Linked DNA regions of Homo sapiens: region 2 is linked to region 1. Evidence: promoter capture Hi-C in 16 types of primary human blood cells and fetal thymus (Javierre and others, 2016). All regions are on one chromosome and are shown on one strand. The core of a region is centred on a gene start or on the middle of the fragment in contact, and the rest is flanking DNA. Distances in the headings are between cores, read along the strand shown.

Region 1 (5,658 bases), core at 2,927-5,426:
ATGATATATTACTTCTACTCATTTCATTGATCACAGCAAGTCACATGGATGTCCTTAACTTCATGACAAGAACAAGGCAAACTAGCAACATTGGTGGGCAGCAGTAATGACTCTCACATGTGACATTTGTAGATAGGAAAATGACTATAATTCTTCTGTTTGTTCTAAAATTTCACTTTATCCCTACCTTATTATTAACATTTTAGATAAAGATTTCTAAAAATTAGAACAAGGCCACTGCAACAATGTTTGTATACCCACAAAATTCATGTATTGAAATCCCAGCCCCTCATGTAATAGTATTGAGAGGCGGGGGCTTTGGGACGTAATTAGGTTATGAGGCTCCAGAGAGATCCCTCAGCCTCCACGTGAGGACACAGAGAGAGGACAGCTGCCTAGGAACCAGGAAGCAGGCCCTCACCAGACACTGAATCTCCTGGCACCTTGATCTTGGACTTCCCAGCCCCCAGAACTGTGATAAATAACTTTCTGTTGCTTATAAGCCACTCAGTCTGTGGTGCTCTGTTTTAGCGTCCCAAATGGACTAAGACAGCCACCTGTCATTTAGAATGGTCCAGTTTTTTAAGCTGACCGGTTGTTACAGGGAAGACCATCCATGTGATTGGGCTTGTACAAATTTAAATGGTGACAAAATATAAATGATCCGAGATTCTCAGAGTTGGTGGCCCCAATCTTTCACCCACTAAGGGCATTCCATCTATGGTTTCTAAGGAGATGATTCTCAGGCCCGACTTCCAAAGAAGGAGAGCTTACTCACTTCATCCATTCCTTCTCCTTTAGGTAACAATGCCAAATTCATTTTGCAGAACCACCTCTTCTTCCATTGGAGGGACCCTCACTGGGGGGACTGTTAGCCAGGTGGTACATCATCCTTGGCCATATGAACCAAGCCAGACCAACCAAATCCTCTTCCTGGGACTGGAGTCCTGATCAGAGAGGCAAAAGGGCTGAGATATTTTGGAGCTCAGTTTCCCTGGAAGGACACCTCTGAAAGACCGTCTGGGAGTTGCTGCTGCTGAAGGTTTGGGAGCAACCTCACTCTGTCCTTCCAGAGCCTGGTTCTCTAGCCCTCTGTCCTTTCTGAGAGCTCCACTATACTCAGTCAGTAAGTTCTCCTTTTCTGTATTGTATTGTATTGTATTGTATTGTATTGTATTGTATTGTATTGTATTGTATTGTACTGTACTGTACTGTACTGTACTGTACTGTATTGTATTGTATTGTATTGTATTGTATTGTATTGTATTTTGAGATGGAGTCTTGCTCTGTCGCCCAGGCTGGAGTGCAATGGCATGATCTTGGCTCACTGCAACCTCCGCCTCCCAGGTTCAAGCGATTCTCCTGCCTCAGCCTCCCGAGTAGCTGGGATTACAGGCATGTGCCACCATGCCCAGATAATTTTTGTATTTTTAGTAGAGATGGGGTTTCGCCATGTTGGCCAGGCTGTTCTCGAACTCCTGACCTCAGGTGATCCACCCGCCTAGGCCTCTCAAAGTGTTGGGATTACAGGCGTGAGCCACTGTGCCCGGCCAAATTTTCCTTTTCAAAAAATTAAGCAGAGTCTGGTTTTGATGCTTGTGACTGGGCAGTCATGACTGATGGACACTTAGGCAGGGGTACCAATTGCCTGAAGATGTCAACAATTCTTCTAAAGAGATAATGTGTCCATCAGAAGGCAGAGTTATGGATCAGTGGATGCACAGCAAACAAAAGTGCCAAAAAGGACCTCAGTGGCCCTCCCCATCCACAAACAGCCTTGCCAGAGAGTGCTGGGGCCATAAACTGGAATTCTATGGTCCAGGTTGATTCTACGCCAGTCAAGGAAAATTAAAAGCATCATTTGTACGAGCTGTGCTGATTCAAGTAGTCTAATTGCATAAATTGTATCATCCCTGCTTTGTAGATTAAAAGACTCAGACTGGAAGAAGTTATTTCACTTGCCTAAGACCATGCAGCTTCCAGTAGGGCAGCTGTGGCTCTAAACAGAGGTCTCTCTAGACCATGTTGTCACCAGTAGGTTCAGTTTAGGCTGTCACTGTGGAGTCTTGGAAACTGGAAGCCCACAAGGCAGAGGCCTCATTGGTCTTGTTTAGGATAGCATCAGTGTCGGCCATGTTGCAGGTGGCTGATTACCACAGTCTAAGAACTGATTAGAACAGCAGCTGTCACCCCTGACTGCTCGTTAGCGTCCCCTGGGGATGCCCCTGCCTCACTCTGATCAATCAAGTCAGAGTCTCTGGGGGCAGGTTCTAGGCATCAAGAGTTTTTATAACCAGCCCCCTACCACTCCCTAGGTAATTCAGGTATGCAACCAGGATGGAAAAACCACCTGATTAAAGGCAATCTGGTCTCCACTGTGCCACTAAACTGCTCTTGTCAAGGCCACCAGCAACCCCGATACTGGGAATCAGAAGGCTCTTCTGACCTCTTCGGAGGCTACCTCTCAGCAGCAGTTGATACAATTAACCAACATCTACTCCCCTTCTTGAATCAAATTTCTTTCCTGTGACCCCCGAACTTATCTGATTTTCCTGCCTCACTCAACTCTCCTTGCTAGTGACACCCCCTCTTCCAGGCTGCTAAATGTCTGTGAACCCCTGGCAGCTGTCCTGGCCCTCTGCCCTGTCTACCTGCTCATGCACACCGGGGGCTTTAAAACCATCCACAGGCCGGCCACTCCCAAACGGATGTCTTCAGCCCCAGATCCCCTTTATCCAGTCGCCTACTTGGCACCCACACTTGGACAGCCCCTAGGCTACTCAGGTGTAAGGGCAATCTGTTTCTCCAGTATTACCTGCCTAAGCTAATAGCATCTCCATTTTTGTTAGTCAAGCCTCAAACCCAGGAGTTGGCTTTATTCTTCTCTTTCCCTCACCTCGCCCTTCCCCGCCCCATATTTTTTTCATCATTTAATCCCAGTGGCTCCACCTCCACAGTAGAGAGCACAATCATTCACTGCTGTCTTCCTACAGCAGCCACCTTCATCGCTCACCTGGACTCCACTAGCCAGCCACCTGCTTCCACTCTCTTCCCCTGTAATCTTGGCTCCACAGAGAAGCCCTAGCAATCCTCGTCACCAGCAATTACATCATGCATCTCTCCCACTGAAAAACCCTTGGAAAAGGTTTCATCTAAGGATGAAAATCTTACCATGCCCTCCCATGTCACATCAAAAGGGCTCAAACTCACTCCGTCCTTAGCCCCTTCCCGGGTGACTCCCTGGTTTATGTTGTTCCAGCCAACCGGCCTCCTGCCTGCTCTGGGAGTGCACCAAGCTTACAGGGCTTAGCATTTGCTGTGGCTTCTGCCTGGGACTCTCCTCCCTCAACCCTTCACATGTCTGCCCTCTTCTCATCTTTCACGCACAGCTTCAGTGCCATCTCCCAGAGTCATCTAAACAACGGCCTCCTCTGTCACTTGAGTCGCTCTCTCCTTACACTCCTATCTGCTCCTCTCACAGTGGTTTTCATTTCAATGGCCAAATTATTGGTTTAATTCTGTTGTTTTATTAGCAACTCATTCACCATTTTAAAGAGGCAAATCCCTAACAGGGAAATTGTAAGTTATAAAGCAGCCCAAGTCCATGGCTTCCTCCAGGTCTAGAGAGCTTCCCACCCAAAATACAAAAACAGAGAGGGGGTGAGGCTGAACTCACACCAGGCAGCTCATTGGCCACTGAGTGCAGCACCTTGCAGCAGCTGGAGCCCCCAGCAGTGTGACTCCTGCAACAGAATGGGCCCCCACCCCTCCTCCAGACATCCCGAATGTCCATGCTGTTGTCCATGTAACACAATGACTCCATCATTATCAGTAACATGGTTAATGTGGACTCCCGTCAGCTGGGGATGGAGTGGCCAGCCTCAGCCTCATGTAACCCATTGTTTCCAAAGGGCTGCAGGCTGCAGAAGCCCCCAAGCTCTCAGGCCAGCTGTGGCTTCTTTGCTGAGATGGAGGTATAGCCAAGAAAGCAGCCTGAAAAGTAAGGACAGAAAATCAAGGCAAAGAGGGTGGGTGAACCAGGCCATACACGTCGGCCATGCAGCAGCAGCCCATCTTTCCCGAGGGATGGACTGAGGGCTTGGCTACTCCCCTGACCATAAATGGCTTGGCCAGGGTTCTCTTGGAGCCACCTCTCAGCCTGCCTCTGCAGCTTTGTCAGTTAACTGTTCCTACAAATGAAAGACACAAGCCAATAAAGCCAGTGAGAAAGGAGCTTACCAAAGGCAGTGTACGAAGAAGGTTCCTGGGAGACTGTCAGAAATGGTGAGTGAAAGCTGGCATCTCTTCTCAATCGAACTTTCATTTCTTACTATAAAAAACCTCCAAATTCAATTAAATGTACAATGAAGTAAAGGGACTTTATTTTAAATTATTTTCCTATATGCAAAATACCAATAATTTTTTAAACTTCTCACCTAATATTTGCTGATCTTGTCTTTCATTTTGGTATTAAGGTTTGTTTTTAAAACCCCACATACAAGAGTACAGAGTAGATGTTTCACCTATGTTCCCTTTCTAGTTGAAGCAATGGATCTAATCAACGATTTTATCTGTCTTACTTGTTTAATCTGGCTTTTTGTTCCATCATCAGCAACATGGATGGTCATCATTGATCAGAAATTTTCCATCTTTCTTGTTTACTTGTGATAAATATTTTGTTGTGACTCAATCAAATGAAGTTTGCTAAGTTAGAAGAGAAAACAAGAGGGTTCTGTGATTTACTAAAGAATTATGGAAACAGCCTAGGTGTCCATCAGTGGATGAATGGATAAAGGGACTGTGGTTTATATGTATATATACAACTGAATATTAGCTTTAGAATAGGAGGAGACCCTGCCATTTGCCATGTTTGTCCTATTTGGACCTGGAGAACATTATGCTAAGTGAAATAAGCCAGACACAAAAAGAAGAATATTGTGTAATCTCACTTTCTTGTGGAATTTTTTTTTTTTTTTTTTTTTTTTTTTTTTACAAAAAGCATTGTTAAAAGGAGTAGAGCTCAGTCTGTGGAGTTAGGGAGATCTGTGATCTAACCTGATCTCTACCACTTAAAAGCTGGTGAGCAAAAACCTATCTTGGTCTCAGTTTCCACAGGTATAATATAGGAATAATAGTGCTCCCTTCATGGGGAGGTTGTGAGTATGGGGTCTTATACCCAGCACACCTTCAACAGCAGTAAGTTTTTATCCTGTCTCTTCCTCCTTCCTCTCACAAACTGCAAACTTATAATGAAGGACGTTCAGCCACTGAGATCCCAAAATGCCTTCAGAATCATTGTGTAGATACTGCATAGTGCTCAGACTAGCAGTAAGCAATAATTGCATTGTATCCAATTCTAGTACTTTGACTATCACTAACTCATGCTTGCAATTCCATTCCACAAGAACTTTCCTATCCTTAGCTCTGTGCTGGCCAGGCCATAAAGAATATGCTACCACGTGATCCCTAAAACACAGAGGGTGTTTTACAGTTTGGGAGAAAGGAGCTGCCACAGATGACATTACGGTATTCCCTTGTGAAGTGGGCAAGGCAAGTTAATAGTATCCCATTTTGAGAATGGGAAAACTGAGCCTTGGAGAATAGATTTGTTGTGAGAAAATGGAGACCAGAGGGTTTGAGTGACTTATCCAAGACTAC
Region 2 (5,686 bases), core at 2,533-5,032, 720 kb before region 1:
GGTAGAGTTGAAGAGGACGAAGCTAGTTGTGTCTTCTGTGTGCCCCTGAGCCTCTCACTGCTTAGTGGGACTCTAGCCTCTGAGCTGCTGTTCCTTGGCAGGGCTGAACTTTCACTTCAAAGCAGGGCTGCCTTGTGGGATGTGCCCCTGATATCTCTGTTGGGGGAACGCATGCTCAGTAGCTGCATAGCAAACAGCCGGGTTCAAGGAAATGTTACCCTGGGTGCTTTTATGTTGCGGCCATTCAAGGCTGCTTAATGTCTCTGCCTGATGAGGTTTCTGCAACATTAACTCTGGTGGTGGTGGAGGGAGAAGGAGGGGGCTGCCACAGGAGGGTTTGTGGCTTCGCGGTGGGCAGGGAAGGGGCGCACCTCTCCAGCTGATGGGACCTGGCACATGTTGGGTGCTCAGTAAATGTGGGTGGGATGAATAAGGGCAGAGCTCAGACCCCACCATCCACAGTGTCAGGCCCCCAAACCACCTGCAGGAACTTGGACATCAGGAATTCCCTGGGACCATGTTGGCTGTTCCACATTTTATTTTATTTATTTATTTTTTAAATTTTTGAGATAGGGTCTCACTCTGTTGCCCAGACTGGAGTGAAGTGGCATGATCACAGCTTACTGCAGCTTCCACCTCCTTGGCTTGACAATCCTCCCAACTCAGCCTCCTGAGTAGCTGAGACCACAGACACACTAACACACCTGGCTAATTATTTAAAAACATTTTTGTGGAGACCAGGTCTTGCTATGTTGCCCAGGTTGCCTCAAATTCCTAGGCTCCAGTGATCCTCTTGCTTCGGCCTCCCAAAGTGCTGGGATTACAAGCATGAGCCACTGTGCCCAGACTGTAGTTCGATAATTGAAAAAAAATCTCCAGACCTCACAGAGCATGTGTGAGCTTTAATTCCGTGAATCTTATCATTCTCTTAGGAGTGGAAGAGGTGGTAAAGGAGAGGGAGCAGTCATTTCTTCAGTCAGAGTCACAGAGCTGTACCACTCAGGATTTAGTAGCGGCAGTTGGAAGCCTCACGGACAATACAACTGATTGTCACCCACCGTGTGCCAGTCTCCTCTTACAAACTTATGTTACAGAAAAGGAAACTGAGGCCCAAAGAGGCATCAGTTGGTGCTGAGCTTCGTTTTGAATCCAGGCTGCAGGGCTCTGCTCCCAGACTAGCTACTGCGCCCTGAGACTTCCTTTAGGGAAACTCGCTGATCTGATGACCCTGCCATCTGCTCCAGCTGGTCTGGCTCAAGGCAGTCAGGGTTGCAGAGAAGGGGAGCAGGAGAGCACCCAGGATTAGGAAGGGGAACTTGCCACTCAAAGGACCGCAGCCAAGCCTAGTGGAGGTGGCAAAGGCAGCTCCCAGGATCTATCCTGTCCTGTGTGATTTTTTTTTTTAAGAGATGGAGTCTCACTCTGTCACCCAAGTTGGAGTGCAGTGTCATGATCATAGCTCACTGTAACCTTGAACTCTTAGGCTCAAACAATCCTCCTGCCTTAGCCTCCGAGTAGCTAGGACTACAGGCAGACATCACCATGTCTCGCTGATTTTGTTAGCTGTTTGGAGAGATGGGCTCTCACTCACTATGTTGCCCATGATGATCTCAAACTGGCCTCAAGCCATCCTCCCACCTCAGCCTGCCAAAGTGCTGAAATTATAGGTGTGAGCCACGGCCCCCGGTTCCGTCCTGTATTTTCACAAGACAGAGAAGTAGAGGACCAGATTAAAGGAAACTGGGCTTGTGGCAGGCGGGACCCACTCCCCCTTCACTGCACCAGTGTGGTCTCTTTGACACCACTGCTGGGTCTGCTTTGCACCCTGGCCCTGGCCCCTACCTGAGCTTGAACTTCTGGAGAAGATGAAACAAACAGATTCACACTGAGAATTAGCTGACTGATAAGCTTTCTACTTGCATCTTCTGGGAGCACCTGAGGTTTGTGAGTGGACAAAGCCCTGGCCTCTGGGTTGAGGCCCAAGGCAGCACAATGCAGGTTCTTATCATCGAATGCTCTCCAGAACCCACCTTGAAGGTGAATTAGACCTAGTCCCTGACCTGGAGACAGGCGTGCACACATGCAGTATGCACACAGGGTAGATCTGGGGCACTTGAGTGTTGTTTCATGGGCTGGAGAGAGCAGGCAGGGAGGGGTACTTGCAGAATTAATTCCCCTTCTACGTGGGAGGCATAGGATCTAAAGGGAGGTGTGAAGAACCGGCAGAGACAAAGGCGGGATGGTCCAGCGAGATCCCAGGAGCATCTCTGAGCAGCATGTGCATCCCAGCGTCCCACCCATGGGTATTGATAGCCTCCCTCCTGCCAAGCCATCCTGCAGCAGGGCCCTGGAGCACAGACAGTCCTTAGGAGTCTGTCTCCCATTCCCTGGCCTGAGCAGGGAGCCAGGGCTGGGACTCCTGACCTCCTGGCAATGCTGGAGATGCCAAGTCTTCCTCTGCTGTGAGTGCTGGAGCTGATTCACCAGGGAGCCCCACACCTGCTCCTCACCCGTGCCCTCAGGCATCTTCCATGCAAATTGGCAGAAATGCAGGAAGGGCCTGTGGGACAAATGTAGTGGCTGGTCCCTGCCCCCCACCAGCCCTGTGGGTGCCTTTTCTGTTCCTCAGGAAGGCGGGCCTTGGTGAGCTGCAGCTGAGGGGTTGGTAGCTGCTCTTCCCTCTCTCCACTCACTAGGGGTGTCTGTGTCTAAGTCTCCCCACCTCAGCCCCCAAAGAATAGGAGTTGGCACCTCCAACCCTTGCTTTGAAATGCTAACCAGTACAGAGGTTATAATCTGGTTTGCTTTGGCTCCAGCTGGGGACATTAAAACATTTTACACCTTTCCTCTGCTGGAGGCAGCACTTCTCAGACTTCAGTGTGCACCTGAGACACTGAGGGATCCTGACTCAGGAGGTGGGACCCAGAAAATCTGCTTTTCTATCAAACTTCCCGGGGATGACGATGCTGCCAATCCACCAGGTGCCAGGGACTCACTTGCTGAGTTATCTGCAGTGGAATCCCGGGCAGCCACTTATTGATAACAGTCGTGTGAGGCTGCCCCGTGCTGGCACCAGCTACCAGTGGGCACGCTGAGTGTGTGACACACACAGCATGTAATCCCATCCTCCCAGCATCCCTGGGAGGTCAGTATTGTTGCAGATGTTGGGAACTAACTGTGGTCCTGCCAGAGGTCATGGAGTGGGTTGGCGGCCTTGAGCCTCAGCCTCCTGACTCCCAGGCCCTGACCCTCCCTCCTCCTCCCTACAGAGCCCAAAAGGCAATTATTAAAGTGTGGGCAATGGCAGCCAACTCTGCCAGTCCTGGCTGAGGCCCCACACTCAGCTGTGGTTAAGCCATATGATAATTATTCCCATTTTACCATGAGAAGACTGAGGCTTGGGGGTTAGAAGATGTGCATGAGGCCAGAGCCTGAGTCCTTAATCCAACCATCTTCTGACAAGGATCTAAGCCCCCAGATGAGGTGCCCTGGTACCCTTGGGGTGCCCTGGTTCAAGGTAACCACTCGGGCTGCAGGGGGCCGAGGGGACAGGCCAGGCTGCCCAGAGCTTCCATGTGGCATGAAAGGCAGACAAAGTAAGGCCTGTGCCCTGCAGTGGCGCCCGAGTGGGCAGCAAGAACCCAGAGCCCAGTCCAGCCTTGGCAGGTGCCCAGCAGCCCTCTGTGTACTCCCACCCCTGCCCCCACTGCTAATCCCCTTAGAGGCTGGTCTGCCAGCAGGGACCAATCAGGTTAGAGCGTGAAGGCAGATTAGCAGCCAGAACATGGGGTCTTGACCTCAGCTTCCCCAACCCCTGCCTCCTCCAGCCCTGGGAGAGGATGGGGGGATTGGCAGAGTGTGCAGAAGGAGGGGCAGCCAGAGCAGGGTGCCTGGGGATGGTGCCAAGTCAGGGTGTGGGCCTGGCGGCCCCCTTGTCTTCAGGGGCGGGCGGCCGACTGGGGTTGCCCGATGCTTCCAGGCCAAGTGGGGGCTGCTCTTGGTGGAGCTTGCCTCCTGGGGTGCTTGATCTTGGCAATGGGGTTCATGCTTTGTCTGCAGGGCCCTTGCCTTGAGCTGGTGTGAACTTGGAACCACTTGAGGGTGTTGGTTGTTAATATCCTGAAGGATGTGTGAAGGGAAGAGGTGCGATTGTTACATCATCCACAATAACAAGTGCTTGCTCGTGCCTGCCTTCCCCTTCTGAGCCTGCATCTCACTGGGTCTGCAGCCTGGTTAGGCAGAGCAGGTACAAGTGGCCGCAGCATAGGTGGGGAGCTGTGGTCTCTCGCCATGCACAGCCAGCCTGTCTGGCCCTGAGCTCCTGCCTCTCCCTTGGCCAGTCCTAACTACTTGTTTTGGCCGGGAAAACGGAGAGGGATTAGAGCAGAGGACTCATGTAAGGATCCATTTTAGTTCATTCAGCTAAAAATTACTAAGTCTCTGCAATGTGCCAGGATATAAGGGAAAGTGAAGGAGAGTGTCTGCTGGGAGGTTATGGTCTGGAGAGGGAGATGGACGTTCACCAGAGTCAGTACTTCATCACATTCGGTGCACCTGTATTTTATTACAAGCCTGGGTTGTGCCGAAAAGTAAAAGTGGGGGTGCTAGGAGCCTGTTGCAGATAGAGCAGCTGACTCAGGCTCAGGGGAGGTGTTTGTAGACTGAGGTGTGAAGGATAAATAGCGTTTCCTGGGTGAAGGTGAGGGAAGAGTATCCCAGGCAGAAGCCACAGCAAGTACACAGGTCCTGTGGATGTCAGGAGGGGTCTGGGAAACTGGAGGAATGTCAGCAGAGGTGAGGGAGTAGGCAGCGGCACCTCTCCCATCAGATCCTGCAACATAAGTGCCGCTTTCCATCCCCATGTTGCAGATGAGAAAACTGGGGCCAGAGAGGTTACATGACTTGCCCGAGACCACACGATTTAAGTGAGTGGAGCCAAGTCTCCCCTGTGACACCCAGCTGTGGGCTTTGTCCTCAGCACCCTGGCCTCTCCGTGAGTGCTCCCTGGACCAGCATCCCCGCATCCCCCAGGTGCTTGTCAGAAGTCTGGGACCTTGTCCCGCCCTTCAGCTTCTGCCCCAGCCCTGTATCTCCCCAGCGCTGTCCTGGGTCTGACTCTGGGGATCTGTCATGGTGCCCTCGTCACTGTCCTGCCCCTGCCCTCCTTCTGAACCCCTGTCTGGCTCCGCTTCCCCGGGCTGGGACAGGCCCTGGCTGCCCTGGGCTTGGCTGTTTGTCCTTCCAGTCGCAGATCCCGCCCGCTTCCAGGACGGCAGTTCTCAGGGTGTCTCATTCTGCCCAGACACATCCTGGCCATCTCCTCACTTCAGGGCGTTTGACAAGGCCGCGTGGGAGGAGGACGGGCAGCAATGACTGGGTCTGAGGAAGATGAAGGTGGCCCAGAGCTCCCGGAAAACTGATGGGGAAAGGCTTAGGTGGTGCTTTTGGGGGGTTTCCACACAGACCAGGGGCAGAAGACATGATAAACTTTATTTCAAAGGGATTTGGGAAAGATGAGACAAGTATTGGCAAGGTAGGAAGTCAGTTGGAGCAAAAAGAAAAAAAAAGAGAATAGCTTTGTTCTGCTAGTTTGCGATGTGGTTGAGGCATCCAGGTCCAGGGAAGGCTTCTGGCGCCCCCTCGTGGGAAAGCTTGAAACAACAGAGCCTTAGGGTTGCTTAGGCTG

The links. The method cuts DNA at HindIII sites, captures the fragments that hold promoters and counts their contacts. A CHiCAGO score of 5 or more calls a contact.
Region 2: a contact is called between a fragment that was not itself captured here and the fragment with the promoter of OPALIN in region 1, in 1 of 17 cell types (neutrophils). The highest score is 5.7, in neutrophils.

Annotation. Positions count from the first base shown.
Region 1 is chr10:96,357,520-96,363,177 of GRCh38, reverse strand. OPALIN (oligodendrocytic myelin paranodal and inner loop protein) reads left to right here and starts at 4,176. Exons shown (of 6, transcript NM_033207.5): 1 at 4,176-4,284. The coding sequence starts at 4,282. The HindIII fragment of the contact is 2,651 bases long and covers 3,299-5,658 here.
Region 2 is chr10:97,072,987-97,078,672 of GRCh38, reverse strand. The region is part of intron 4 of SLIT1 (slit guidance ligand 1); the gene reads left to right. Among named protein-coding and RNA genes, the nearest start is that of SLIT1-AS1, 27 kb to the left of the region's middle. RefSeq lists a silencer at 5,547-5,686. The HindIII fragment of the contact is 3,743 bases long and covers 1,911-5,653 here.